2 separate regions of the Homo sapiens genome follow, and region 2 is linked to region 1. Evidence: promoter capture Hi-C in 16 types of primary human blood cells and fetal thymus (Javierre and others, 2016). All regions are on one chromosome and are shown on one strand. The core of a region is centred on a gene start or on the middle of the fragment in contact, and the rest is flanking DNA. Distances in the headings are between cores, read along the strand shown.

The links. Contacts are between HindIII fragments. The CHiCAGO score rates a contact against its expected background, and 5 or more counts as called.
Region 2: a contact is called between a fragment that was not itself captured here and the fragment with the promoter of APC2 in region 1, in 1 of 17 cell types (naive B cells). The highest score is 5.2, in naive B cells.

Annotation. Positions count from the first base shown.
Region 1 is chr19:1,444,602-1,451,370 of GRCh38, forward strand. It overlaps APC2 (APC regulator of Wnt signaling pathway 2), which reads left to right and starts at 5,520. Exons shown (of 15, transcript NM_005883.3): 1 at 5,520-5,737. RefSeq lists silencers at 630-1,019, 1,070-1,169, 1,630-1,679, 2,329-2,623, 5,367-5,566. The HindIII fragment of the contact is 28,474 bases long and covers 1-6,769 here.
Region 2 is chr19:1,792,947-1,799,465 of GRCh38, forward strand. ATP8B3 (ATPase phospholipid transporting 8B3) reads right to left here. Exons shown (of 29, transcript NM_138813.4): 15 at 4,028-4,059; 16 at 3,765-3,933; 17 at 3,131-3,319; 18 at 2,929-3,041. Among named protein-coding and RNA genes, the nearest start is that of ATP8B3, 16 kb to the right of the region's middle. RefSeq lists enhancers at 2,664-3,476, 2,884-3,178, 3,477-4,288 and a silencer at 2,884-3,178. The HindIII fragment of the contact is 226 bases long and covers 1,712-1,937 here.

The DNA.
Region 1 (6,769 bases), core at 4,270-6,769:
CTCAGCCTCCCGACTAGCTGAGACTACAGGCATGCGCCAAGACGCCGGTTAATTTTTTGTATTTTTAGTATAGACGGGGTTTTGCCATGTTGGCCAGGCTGGTCTCGAACTCCTGACCTCAAGTGATCCACCCGCTTCGGCCTCCCAAAATGCTGGGATTACAGGCGGGAGCCACCGTGCCCGGCCCCACGCTTCTGTTTCTACCCTCTGGTCCCACACCCCGCTCCAGAATCTGCATGGACTCTCCCAGACCTGCCCGGCCCCATCTGTGCCGTCTCAGACAGACAGCTCCGTCCTCATCAGGTTCAGGTCTGGCCCCGGCGCTTGCGGGTCAGCTGCCTTCAGGCCCTGTCCTGGTTCCCGGCGCTTCTCACATCCCCGCGGCCTCCCCCCTGGACGGCAGTTTACACTGAACTCGGCGCCCTCCCCTGACTTCTGAAGGAGGAGTCCTGGGTGGCCCCGAAGCCTCCCCGGCAGCCGCACGGCTCCGTCCCCGCTCCAGGGTTCAGCTGAGGCACCTGCTGGAGGCGGCCTGTCCCCGCCGCCCTGCTAAAGCGGCGCCCCTTTCTCCGGCCGCTCGTTCTTTGGTTTCCAGGGACTTTGCACAATTCATAACACCCCTCTTAGCCCCCATCCTGCCCGGGCCGCATCTTCCGCCCGATCATCCGGCCCTCGACCCGCGCAGCCGCCTCCGCCCTCCTCTCCCGGCACCGCCCACGGCCTGTTCTCCCCGCAGCCGCCAGCGGGCGCCCGCGAGCCTGGAGCCGGGCGCGGCCCTGCTCTGTCCACAGCCCGCGGTGGCTCCCACCTCCCGCTGGGCCTGCGCGACCTGCCCCCCGGGGCCTCCCAGCCCTCACTGCCCTCGCGGGCTGCACTCTCCCCCAACACTCCCCAGGGCTGTTCGGCCTCCCCAGCAGCTCCCCATGCCCTGCCCGCCGCGCTGGCGTCTCTCCCAGCCCGCTGCAGTCCCCTCGTTCACGTCAGCTTCCCAAGGGCCTGGATTTTGTTTTGTTCAGTGCAGGGGGACCCAGCACACAGTAGGTGCTTTATAAATGCTTGTTGCATGAATGTCCGCGTTCGGTGTCGCCCCCTTACGGCGGCCCCCCGCGCGCCCAGCTCGGCGCCCAGCAAGCCTTGTGCGCGCAGGTGATGTTTGCTGAATGACTAATGAACCTCAGCGCGCCAAGCCGGGCTGATTCGGGGGTGGTTCCGAGCTTCCGCAGGGTGACCGTCCGCGGGCAGCGGACCACAGCCGCATGGCGACGCCGCCTCTGGCCCCCCGCGACCCCCATTCCCCGTGGGACCTCTCGTGCCCCCACCCCCACCCGGCCTCCTCCCCGCCGCCTCGGGCCCCCCCAGCCTCCTCCGCATTCGAACTCCCCAGCGTGGTCGGACCCGGACCCTGGCGCCGCTCGGCCCACGCGAGTCCCCTCCCCTCTCTCCCATCCTTGGATCTCCCACCGCCCCTCCGCAGCCTCGGTCCCGCGAGACTCCCCAGCCCCCGCGAGCACCCCCAGACCCCACGGTACGCCCTCGCCCCTTTCGGGAGGAGCCCCGCCCCGGGCCCGCGGACTGACCCCTCCCGCCCCTCTCCGCGCAGGCGCAGGGCGGCCCCGTTCGCGTCCCGCACCCCCACCCTGGCCGCCGAGGGGCGGGGCGCGGCGGGTCCGGGGCGGCCGCGGCTCCATGGGGCTCCTGGGGCTCCTGAGCCTGCTGCACTCGGCCTTCTTCGGGGACCAGGTAGGGCGCGTGGGTCGAGCCGTTGGGGAGGGCTCCGGGCCGCGCAGGAACGGGGCGGGGTCCACACCGCGGGAACAGCGGGCGCGGCGGCGGGGGGCGCATGGGGCGAGCGCGCGGAGGCTGCAGAGTCGGGGGTCTAGTGCCGTCGCCGTAGAGACCGTTGCCGGGAAACCGCCTCGGAAGGCTGGCGGGGATGGAAGCCCCTCTCGTGCGCCGCTGCGACCCCCAGCCCCGGGTCTGCGCAAGCGCAGGGCTCGCCCAGCCCAGCCCTCGGCCTCTGCAGGAGACCCTCGGACCCCTCCTCACTGCGCCGACGCGGAGGCTGCGCCAGCTGGGGCGGCGGGGGCGGCTGCGGGGGCATCCTGCGGAGGCTCGGCCCTGCGCAGGGTGGGGGCCTGGGCCACGCCCTGCGCTTCTTTGGGCCTCAGTTTCCCCTTCTGGGCGCGAGCGTATGGCCTGCTTTGACGTTCGCCGCCGCTGCTGTTCGTATCCGTCCGCTCCCGACCCCAGCGCTTCTCCAGCCTCCGGAATCGTCTGAATTTCGCGGCTGTGACATCCCTCATTGGAGGGGAAACTGAGGCTGGGGGGTGCAGCGGGGAGCCCAAGGTCACGCTTCGAGGCCGGAGCCTCGTTGCGGAGCTAAGGCGCCCGCAAGAGAACGCGGGGCGGGGGCCGGGGAGCTGTCCGCGGTGCTGACGGAGGCGCACGTCTGCCGACTCGCCGCCGGGGAAACTGAGGCCCATAGCGGCGGTCAGGCTTCAGGGCGCGGCCTGGACCGGCCTACCCCACCCTCCCCCACCTCCGGTGGCCTCCTCACCGGTCAGGGCTCTGCCCGGCCACCCAGCCGGCGGCGGGCCGTCTCTATCCTCCCGCGATGACCTGGTGCCTTCTCTGTCCCCACCCAGCTCCCGATGGGGGCCGCCCCTGTTTCTGCCTCTAGCCCCTGGCACAGAGGAGGCATCAAGGGGGCGGGGACAGCTCGAGGTCAGACTCAGAAGGCTCAAAGACACTCCAAGAGTGAGCCGTGTGCCAGGCTGCGGACTTGCGGGGAGGTGTCACAGGACAGGGGTGGGGGAGTGAGCATTTCATGGAACTTCCCCTTTAGCCCAGCAGCAGTAGGGGGCGTGGAGGACCCCAGGGAGGAGCCTAGGTCGGGGTCTTGGGCTAGGCCCTGCGTTCTGCAGTGGGAGAAGGGGGAGACCTCTCTCAGTCTCCTGAAGTCCTAGGGGGCTGTGGGGGGTTCTTGAGGCTCTGAAATGTCTGGTGATGTCTGAGTGTGGCTGTGGTTCAAGGATTTACAGGGTCGAGGATTTTAGTGTGTGGGGGGGGATTGTTCAGGGACATAATGTTTTGTAGATTTGGGGCCAAGGGCATCTTGTCTTGGGGTCTCAGCCCCCATGTACCCTCAGCCCTCCAGGCCCTGGCCACCCCCAGAGGGATAAGAAGGGAGGTTCAGTGTCACTCCGGAGGCCTGGCTGGCACAGGTGAACTCAGGCAACACGTTCCCTGGCCCAGGCCTCAGTTTCCCCATGTATACAAGGACAGGACTGACCTTGGATCCCCCAAACCCCTGCCTGATGGGGGCCTGGGGAGCTGAGACATCTGAAACTACACAGGGAGGTGGGACTTAGTTCCTCTTTGGGGGAGGCAGGGATCATCCAACCCACCCTTCAGTAAACAAGACTGGAAACCGAGGCCAGAGAGAGACATGCCCAGGGGGACACAGGGACAACAAGGCTGAGCTGAAGCCAGGGCCCTGGGCTCTGCATCCCCAACCCCATTTCAGCCTCGCCCAGCTCTGCCCCGGCTTGACCTGTCAAACCCCACCACGCGCCCTACCCCATGGCTCCACCAGACACCCCCTGTGTCCCAAGCATGCATTGATCTTCCCTCAGCCTGGAACGCCTCTCCTCCTGATCACTGCTGTTCACTTCTCAGGGCAGCCTTCCAGCCTCCAGAAAAAAATCCCCTTCGAGGCGGGCGGATCATGAGGTCAGGAGTTTGAGACCAGCCCGACCAACACGGTGAAACCCCCTCTCTATTAAAAATACAAAAATTAGCTGGCAAGGTGGTACATGCCTGTAATCCCAGTTACTGAGGAGTCTGAGGCAGGAGAATCACTTGAACCCAGGAGGCGGAGGTTGCGGTGAGCCGAGATGGCGCCACTGCACTGCAGCCTGGGGGACAGAGCAAGACCCCATCTAAAAAAAAAAAAAAAAAAAGGCCGGGCGTGGTGGTTCACGCCTGTAATCCCAGCACTTTGGGAGGCCGAGGCGGGTGGATCACGAGGTCAGGAGATCGAGACCATCCTGGCTAACGTGAAATCCCGTCTCTACTAAAAAATACAAAAAATTAGCCTGGGCGTGGTGGCGGGCGCCTGTAGTCCCAGCTACTCGGGAGGCTGAGGCAGGAGAATGGCGTGAACCTGGGAGGCGGAGCTTGCAGTGAGCCGAGAACGTGCCACTGCACTCCAGCCTGGGCTACAGAGCAAGACTCCGTCTCAAAAAAAAAAAAAAGAAAAAAAAGAAAAAGAAAAAAGAAAAGATCCCCTGTGTCTGCCCACTGCATTGCCTCCCCAGACCCAACCAGTGGGGACAGCTGCGTCCAGCTCTGGGGGCTCCCAGACAGCCAGGCCGAAGGGCTCTCAGCCCCTGGCAGTGCTGGCCCGGGACAAGGCCCTCGGGTCTTCAGCTCAAGGCCCAACAGGAAACAGCACGGGTCCTCCCTTGCCTTTGTCTACGGGGCCTTGAATACTCGGACCTTCCCACCCTCTCCTATCATTCCCTGCACCAGCCCTTGCAGAATCTTCCGCCTCCTCTCCATTTTACAGAGGAGGAAACCGAGGGTTGAGCGGCGAATGATTTGCCCTGCCTGCCCAGCACGGAAAAAAATCACTCTTCTGGCCCCAGTCGCCTCCCTTTCTGTGCTGTGAGTCTGTGTCCAGAGCAGGAAGGGCTGCTCCGAGCTGCAGGGACGGGCTCTGTGTGTTAAACCTTCAAATGGCTTCCAGGGACTCATGGAGCATCCAGGACACCTGGAGATGGCGACTCCTGGGACCCCTGGCCCTTCCCTCCTCTGGCCTTCGGTCCGTGAGGGTGAATTAAGTGTGCCACCCACCAGGGGCAGAGACACATGGAGACAGAGATTGAGAGACAGAGAACAGAGGGGGAGACAGAAAGAGAGAGGGACATGAAGAGCAACGGAGTTACAGGAGGATCTGACGCTCCGTTGGGGAGACAGGGAGAAATGTGGGGAGATGCAGCGTCCCAGGTGCTCCCCAGTGGCCCTGCCCCTCCTCCCCTCTCCCCTCCCCACCAGGCAGGACCCTCAGGGAGCTCCAGCCTGGACCCGAACCCTGTCCCACCCTGACGCACCTGCACCAGGCCAGGCTGGACCTGTGGGGTGGGTGCAGGCCTGGCCCCAGCCCGGCCACTGCCCTGGAAACCCCTCCCCCGCCAAGATGCTGATGTAACATCCAGGATTTGATGTTTTACTCTCCAATTCTGCAAATCCAGACGCAGGAGGTTTTAAGAGGCCGTTGCACCCTGCAATAAAGTGCGGGACACAGGAATCTTGGTCCTCGGGGCACCCCCTTCCCTCGGGGGGGTTTCGCCCCCCGCACTCACGGCCCCTGAGCCCGCGCGGAGGCCCGACGCCCCGCGGCCGACGCCGGTCCCCGCCCCGGGCCGCCATTGGCTGTTGCCATGGCACCAGCCCGTCTTCCCGCGCCCTCATTGGCTGTCTCACCCGCATCCCTCATCCCGCATCCTCCCCCGCTCGCGGTGGTCTCGCCCAGCGCTAGGAGCGGCAGCGCCGCCTGCCCAGGCCCGGACCGGGCTTTGTCCGCCCCGGAGCCCCTGCCCGCGCCGCGGAGACCCCGGAGCCCGCGCGCTCCGAGGCCACCCCGGGCCGGGATTTCCGGTGGGGCCCGCGGAGCCGCGCAGAGGGAGGAGGCCCCAGACCCAGGCGCCCCGCCAGCCCAGCTGCACGTAAGCGGGTGTGTGTCCTCGGGGAGGAGGGCAGGGGCGCGACCTCCGCCTCGCGTCGAGGTTTCCATCCCTGGCTCTCAGCATTGCCCGTCAGCACAGACTCTGGACCCTCCATTTCCCCAGAGTGGGAGCTGGAGGGGAAACTGAGTCCCGGTGAGCTGGGCGTCAGCGTTTCTGCAGCCGGTCCTGCGCACACACCCACTCACGGGCTTCACCATCCGGACCTCCCTGAGGTGATCGGAGGAAGGGATGGGCAGGCCAGTGGTGTGTCTTCGGGGGTGTTGCTGCACCTCTCTGGGTGTCAGTTTCCCTCTCTGGAAAGAGGGGGTTTGGATTAAAGGAAGGAGAAAGGCCCCTTTGGGCCTGGCTTCCCATACCTGTGCCTCCCTCCCCTGAAATGCAGCCCGCTCAATAAGACCAGCCCCCAGTCATGGTGCCTTCAGGGAGTGATCGCTCAGGAAGGCCCCCAGGAGGCTACACGATGCAACCTGGGGGTGAAAGTAGGCAGAAGAGCTTCGTGGAAGAAGCTGCACTGTGTGGGATGGCAGGACTTAGAAAAGGTGCTCTAGGCAGGGCAACTGCACGTGCAAAGGCCTGAGAGAAGAGAGCCTCCAGCCTCTAAGTGAGTCGCGGTGTACATGGAGGAGTCGGAGCGTATCCTGAGGGCACTGGGGAGCCATGGAAGGTGTTTGAGCATGGGAGAAATGGGATCTCACTTGTGACGTTTAAAGCTCCCTCTGGCTGTGCATGGGGGACTGTGGGAGGCCAGGAAGAGGCTGATCAGAATGTCCTCACAGAGGGGTGTCAGGAGCTGGGGGAGGCATGATCCCGCTGGGCAGAGCTTGGAGGGACTAGCTTAGTCTGATGAGGATGCAGAAATGACCACCGAATGTGGGGAGAGGGAAGGTGTCTGAGGCTTGGCTTCGGTCAGCTGAGAAGAACCACGTGGGGGAGGCCTGGGTTTGGGGAGCAGGAGGCAGACATGTGTTGCTTTGCACGTCATCTGGTCCTTCCACCTGGCTGGGCATGGGATGGTGACC
Region 2 (6,519 bases), core at 575-3,074, 340 kb after region 1:
GCCCCTGCTCCCCACCTACTCTGTCTCAGACACCTGCTCCCACCCCCAGACCCTCAGCTCTCTTTTGCCTCCAGACCTTCTTGGAGGACTGTTTCCCTGCCAGGAACACCTTCCCTATGCTTTGCACAGCAAATTCTTTTTTTTTTTTTTTCTCGGGGGTGGGGGATAGGGTCTCACTTTGTCACCCAGGCTGGAGTGCAGTGGCCCAATCATAGCTCACTGCAGCCTCGAACTCCTGGGCTCAAGTGATTCTCCTGTCTCTACCTTCCAAATAGCTGGGATCATAGGCACATGCCATCACACCCGGCTAATTTCTTTGTATATATATATATTTTTTAAATAGAGGTGGTTTCACCATGTTGCCTGGGCTGGTCTCGAACTCCAGAGCTCAAGCAAGCTGCACACCTGAGCCTCAAAACGCTGAGATTACAGGCAGAAGCCACCACACCTGGCCTGCATGGCGAATTCTGACTATCACTCAAGACCTTCTATGCAGTCCACCCACCCGGTGCCTTCCCCAGCTGGGGCTCCCCCAGTCCCAGGCCCCTCCCTCTGACCCCTCAACTTTGGCTCTCTGAGCCCCTTCCTTGGGCCCCTCATTTCTCAAGGGCCAGACCCAGGGTTGGGGCCTCTAGGGGCTGGGAGGAAACTGGGCAGGCCCAGAGAGCAGGCACCCCAAGGGTGGTCGGGGGGTCCCCAAGGAAGGTGCCCTTACGGCTTCTTACCCCCCGACCCTGCCCCCAGCTTTGTGCTCCAAGGGGTGGCCTTAGGTCTCAAATTTGTTTATTTATTTATTTTTATTTATTTATTTTTTGAGATGGAGTCTCACTCTGTTGCCCAGGCTGGAGTGTAGTGGCGCGATCTTGGCTCACTGCAAGCTCTGCCTCCCGGGTTCAAGCGATTCTCCTGCCTCAGCCTCCCGAGTAGCTGAGACTACAGGCCTGCACCACCACATCTGGCTGATTTTGTAGTTTTAGTAGAGACAGGGTTTCACCAGGTTGGTCAGGCTGGCCTCGAACTCCTGACCTCAAATGATCTGCCCGCCTCCCAAAGCACTGGGATTACAGGCGTGAGCCATCGCGCCAGCCTGTTTATTAAGAGACAGGGGTCTCGCCCTGTCGCCCAGGCTGGAGTGCAGTGGTGCGATCACAGCTTGCTGTAGCCTCCACCTCCTGCACTCAAGCGATCCTCCTGCCTCAGGCTCCCAAAGTGCTGGGACCACAGGCACGCGCCACCATGTCTGATTTCCCTTTTGTTGTTGATGGGGCACGGGTCCAAGAGCTTGGGCTTGACACAGCAGAGGAGCTTCACGGACATTGGCAGCCTCCGACAGGCCTTGACCCTTCTTCCGGCCTCAATTTACCCATCCATTCCCTGGGGTGGCTGAGCTAAGCTGACCTGCTGAGCTCCTGGGCTCTAGGTCATTATTGTGACCGCACTTCCAGTTCAGAGTGCCCCCACATCCTGGCAGAGCAGGGGACACAGGACATCTTCCCACACACACCCCGCTGCCCTGTGCTCCATGCTGCTGGGGCCCCAGCAGAACCTGTGAGGAGCCCCCAGGCTGGACGCAGAATCCTCTGGCCCTGTAGGGTCAGGGCTGGACCAGGGGGAGGCAGCCTGGGGTGATGACAGCCCCATGTTGGCAGGGGGTGGGGCAGGAAAGGCCCCATGTGTGGGGAGCTTGTGGCTGAGTCATGAGGACACCGAAAGCTTCTGAATGACAAAGGTGCAGGGAAGACCCTCCCAGCACAGGAAACAGCATGTGCAAAGGTGCCAAGGCAGCACCTGAGAGTGGGGAAGTCACAAGCCAGAAACTGGGTCCTAGGGAGTCCCTTGGTGAGGCCAAAGAGAGACCAGGCTGGAGAGGTCAGCAGGGGACAGAAAAAGCCTCAAATCCTGGGCCGAGGAGTTCGGGCTTCCCCCACAGAGTGGGAAGCTTTGGAGCAGACGGAGCTGAGTGTGTCCTGGCAGCTGGGCCAGCTCAACCGCACGGTCGTCTTGTGCAAATGAGAAAAATACACCCTTGGCCGGGCGCGGTGGCCTACGCCTGTAATCCCAGCACTTTGAGAGGGCGAGGCGGGTGGATCACCTGAGGTCACGAGTTGGAGACCAGCCTGGCAACATGGTGAAACCCCATCTCTACTAAAAATACAAAATTGGCCGGGCGTGGTGGCGGGCGCCTGTAGTCTCAGCTACTCAGGAGGCTGAGGCAGGAGGATAGCTTAAGCCTGGGAGGCAGAGGTTGCAGTGACTCAAGATTGCACCATTGCACTCCAGCCTGGGCAACAGTGCAAGACTCCCTCTCAAAAAAGAAAAGGCAGGCTGGGCGCGATGGCTCATGTCTGTAATCCCAGCACTTTGGGAGGCCAAGGGGGCAGATCACCTGAGGTCAGGAGTTCAAGACCAGCCTGGCCCACATGGCGAAAACCCATCTCTACTAAAAATATTAAAATTAGCTGGGTGCACTGGCGTGTGCCTGTAATTCCAGCTCCTCGGGAGGCTGAGGCAGGAGAATCACTTGAACCCGGGAGGCGGAGGTTGCAGCGAGCCAAGACTGTGCCACTGCACTCCAGCCTGGGCGACAGAGCAAGACTCTGTCTCAAAGAAAAGAAAAGAAAGACAAGACAAGAAAAAGAAAAAGACGCTCTCTCTCTGGGGGCTACACTTGGGAGTTCAGCTGCCTCCCAGCCGGTGTGTGTGTGTTTTGTGTGTTGCCGGGGGAGGGTGTTTTGTACAGTGCACAACATACCTCACTGTACATAGCCATCCCAGGTACCTGCAGCCTTCCATTTCTCCGTACAGTCTCCTCCCCTGCCTCCTCCTCCTCCTGTCCCTACACACACACACACACACACACACACACACACACACACACACACACACACACACACACACACATAAGCCAGCCTTCCTGAAGGGACTCACAGCCAAGGCCTCCTCTGTGGCAAATTCCATTGCCCCCCTCCTGTGCAAGCGTTCGAAGATGACCGTGTCGGCGCCCTTGGTGTACAGGCAGATGGCGCCCTCTGGCTTTCGAACTGTGGGGGAACAGGCCCTGCTGCCCACAGAGGCTCCCCGTCTGCCCGCCCCACCTTGGGGGGCCCAGGGCTTGGGTGGCGGGGCTCACCCAGCACCGACATCCGTTTGCGCGTGCTGTTGAAGTCCATTATGGCCAGGACCTGGTAGACCCGTTCCTCCCCCAGCTCCATGATCGTGACGGTGTCCTGGGTGCGGGACAGGAACACGTAGCCGAAGTTCCGGGCTGCGGTGACCAGCGCCCCCTCGTCGGGGGAGGCCGCCTGGTACAACAGCTGGTCTGGTAGGGAGGGGGGCCATTTTGGGGTCACGTGGTGGAGCCCGTCTCCATCTCCACAGTGCAGGGAGGAGATGGGTATCGCCTGGGCTACACCTTTATTGATGGTGGCCGGGGACCCCCGCCTGTACAACCCAATGCATGGAGGTGAGCACTTGAGACTAGACGACCTTCCCGCTCAACAACAGATCCTCGGGCTCCGACCGCAGGCCTGGACATCCTTTAGCCCTGACGATGACACGTCCGCCCTCCCGCCACGATGCTTGTCAGCACTGTCTGGGCTCCAGGCCCGGACGCCCTCGAGGTGCGGCTGGTGTCACACCGGCCTCAGCGCCCCCCAAGCCAGCTGAAAGCCCTGGAAGATGGGCCGGGTGAGCTGCGGGGCTGGGGACACTGCCGTGCCCCGGGGGCTGAGCGGCCTCAGAGATGGGGAGGTGGGTGGGCGCACCTGGGCGCTCACGGGGGCTCTCCCGCACCATCACCGTGTGGCAGATGGCCAGCAGGCGCCAGAACTCCCGCACGGCCTCGTCCCCGTTGGTCCGCACGAGGTGCAGCAGGGCCGCATTGTGGAAGAGCAGCTTCCCGTCGGCGAACTTGTTCCAGAGGTAGGGGTTCTCCTGGGGGTGGCGGGGGCACGGGCCGGCTGTGGGTGGGCCGCTCCCCGTGCCCCGTCCCCCTCACCGTCCCGCGCTGCAAGCCAGGCAGGCTCACCTTAGGTCGGGTCGTGGCCTCTGAATCCGGCCCTGGGGAAAGACACAGCTTCCTGCTTCAGCTCCCACAGGCCCCCCATTCGGGATCCCATAGCCCCTGACCCCTAGTTTCAGGCTTCCGGGGGCCACTGGTGCAGCCACACAAGCCAGGCCTGTGGCCCTGGAACCGACACCCCGAGCAATCTTGGGGCGAAAGCTGACCTCAGTTTCCACCACCTGCAGAAAGCGGGGAAGAGGGGAGCACACCCATCCTGTCTCCCAGGGACCCCAAAAGGACAGCCTGGAGCCGGATGCGGCCCCGTCCCGTCTCCCAGGGACCCCAAAAGGACAGCCTGGAGCGGGATGCGGGCTAGGGACCCCAAAAGGACAGCCTGGAGCGGGATGTGGCCCCTTCCTGTCTCCCAGGGACCCCAAAAGGACAGCCTGGAGCGGGATGCAGCCCCATCCGTGGGACACACTTTGTTTCCTCCTCCTGGGGTTTTTGTTCTTTTTTATTTTTATTTATTTATTTATTTATTTATTTATTTATTTATTTATTTATTTTTGAGACAGAGTCCTGCTCTGTCGCCCAGACTGGAGTGCAGTGGCACAAGCTCAGCTCACTGCAACCTCAGCCTCCTGGGTTCAAGTGACTCTCCTGTCTCAGCCTCCCGAGTAGCTGGGATTACAAGCTCATGTCACCACGCCTGGCTCATTTTTGTATTTTTAGTAGAGATGGGGTTTCACCATGTTGGCCAGGCTGGTCTCAAACTCCTGACCTCCAGTGATCCGCCCGCCTCAGCCTCCCAAAGTGCTGGGATTACAGGCGTAGCCACCGCACCCAGCCACTTTTTATGCTTTATTGTTCTTAGAAATGGGGTCCTACTCTGTGGCCCAGGCTGCAGTGCAGTGGTGCGATCATAGCTCACTGCAGCCTCAACCTCCCGGGCTCAAGACATCTTCCCTCTTCAGCCTTCCAAGTTGCTGGGGCAACAGGTGCATGCCACCCCTTTGTGGTGTCTTTTGTGTGTGTGTGTGATGGAGTCTCTCTCTATCACCCAGGCTGCTGGAGTGCAGTGGCGTGACCTTGGCTCACTGCAACCTCCACCTCCGGGTTCAAGCAGTTCTCCTGCCTCAGCCTCCTGAGTAGCTGGGACTACAGGTGCCTGCCACCATGCCTGGCTAATTTTTGTATTTTTAGTAGAGACGGGGTTTTGTCATGTTGGCCAGGCTGCTCTCGAACTCCTGACCTCAGGTGATCCACCCGCCTCAACCTCGGGCCCATTTTTCTATAGCTGAACTTGAACCATTTCTTGGGGACTTCTCACTACACTAAATTATGACCCAGTCCAAACCACGTGCCCTGGTTATAAATTAGACCCGGGGCTGTCAAACTACACCCCACCACATCATCAATTTTTGTACGGCCTGCGAGCTAAGAATTGTTTTTGGATTTTTAATGGTCAGGAAAAAAAATGACTAGAATAATACTAATACTGTTTTGTGGCCGGGCGCGGTGGCTCACGCCTGTAATCCCAGCACTTTGGGAGGCTGAGGCAGGCAGATCACGAGGTCAGGAGATCGAGACCATCCTGGCTAACACGGTGAAACCCTGTCTCTATTAAAAATACAAAAAATTAGCCGGGCGTGGTGGCGGGCGCCTGTAGTCCCAGCTACTTGGGAGGCTGAGGCAGGAGAATGGCGTGAACCCGGGAAGTGGAGCTTGCAGTGAGCCGAGATCGCGCCACTGCACTCCAGCCTGGGCGACAGAGCGAGACTCTGTCTCAAAAAAAAAACAAAAAACAAACAAACAAACAAAACTATTTTATTTTGTGATCTGAGAAATACTCAGCAATTCGAATTTCAGCATCCACAAATAAAGGCTTGTGAAAGTCAAAAGAAGAGCAGTGGCCGGGTGTGGTGGCTCACATCTGTAATTCCAGTGCTTTGAAAAGCGGAGGCAGGCGGATCGCTTAAGCCCAGGAGTTCAAGACCAGCCTGGGCAACATAGGGATTCCCTGTCTTGACAAAAAATACAAAAATAAGCTGGGTAAGGTGGCACTCTCCTGTAGTCCCGGCTACTTGGGAAGCTGAAGTGGGAGGATTGCTTGAGCCCAGGAATTCGAGGCTGCAATAAGCTATGATTGCACCACTGCATTCCAGCCTGGGCGGCAGAGCAAGACCCCATCTCAAAAAATAAATAAATACACACTGTTTAAAAGTTTGGCTAGGTGTGGTGGCTCATGCCTGCAATGCCAATATTTTGGAGGCTGAGGCAGGCAGATCACCTGAAGTCAGGAGTTCGAGACCAGCCTGGGAAACAGGGTGAAACCCCATCTCTACTGAAAAAAAAAATACAAAAATTAGCCAGGCGGGGTGGCACGCAACTGTAATCCCAGCTACTTGGGAGGCTGAGGCGGGAGAATCAACCCAGGAGGCGGAGGTTTCAGTGAGCAGAGATCGCACCACTGCACTCCAGCCTGGGCAACGAGAGCAAAACTCCGTCTCAGAGAG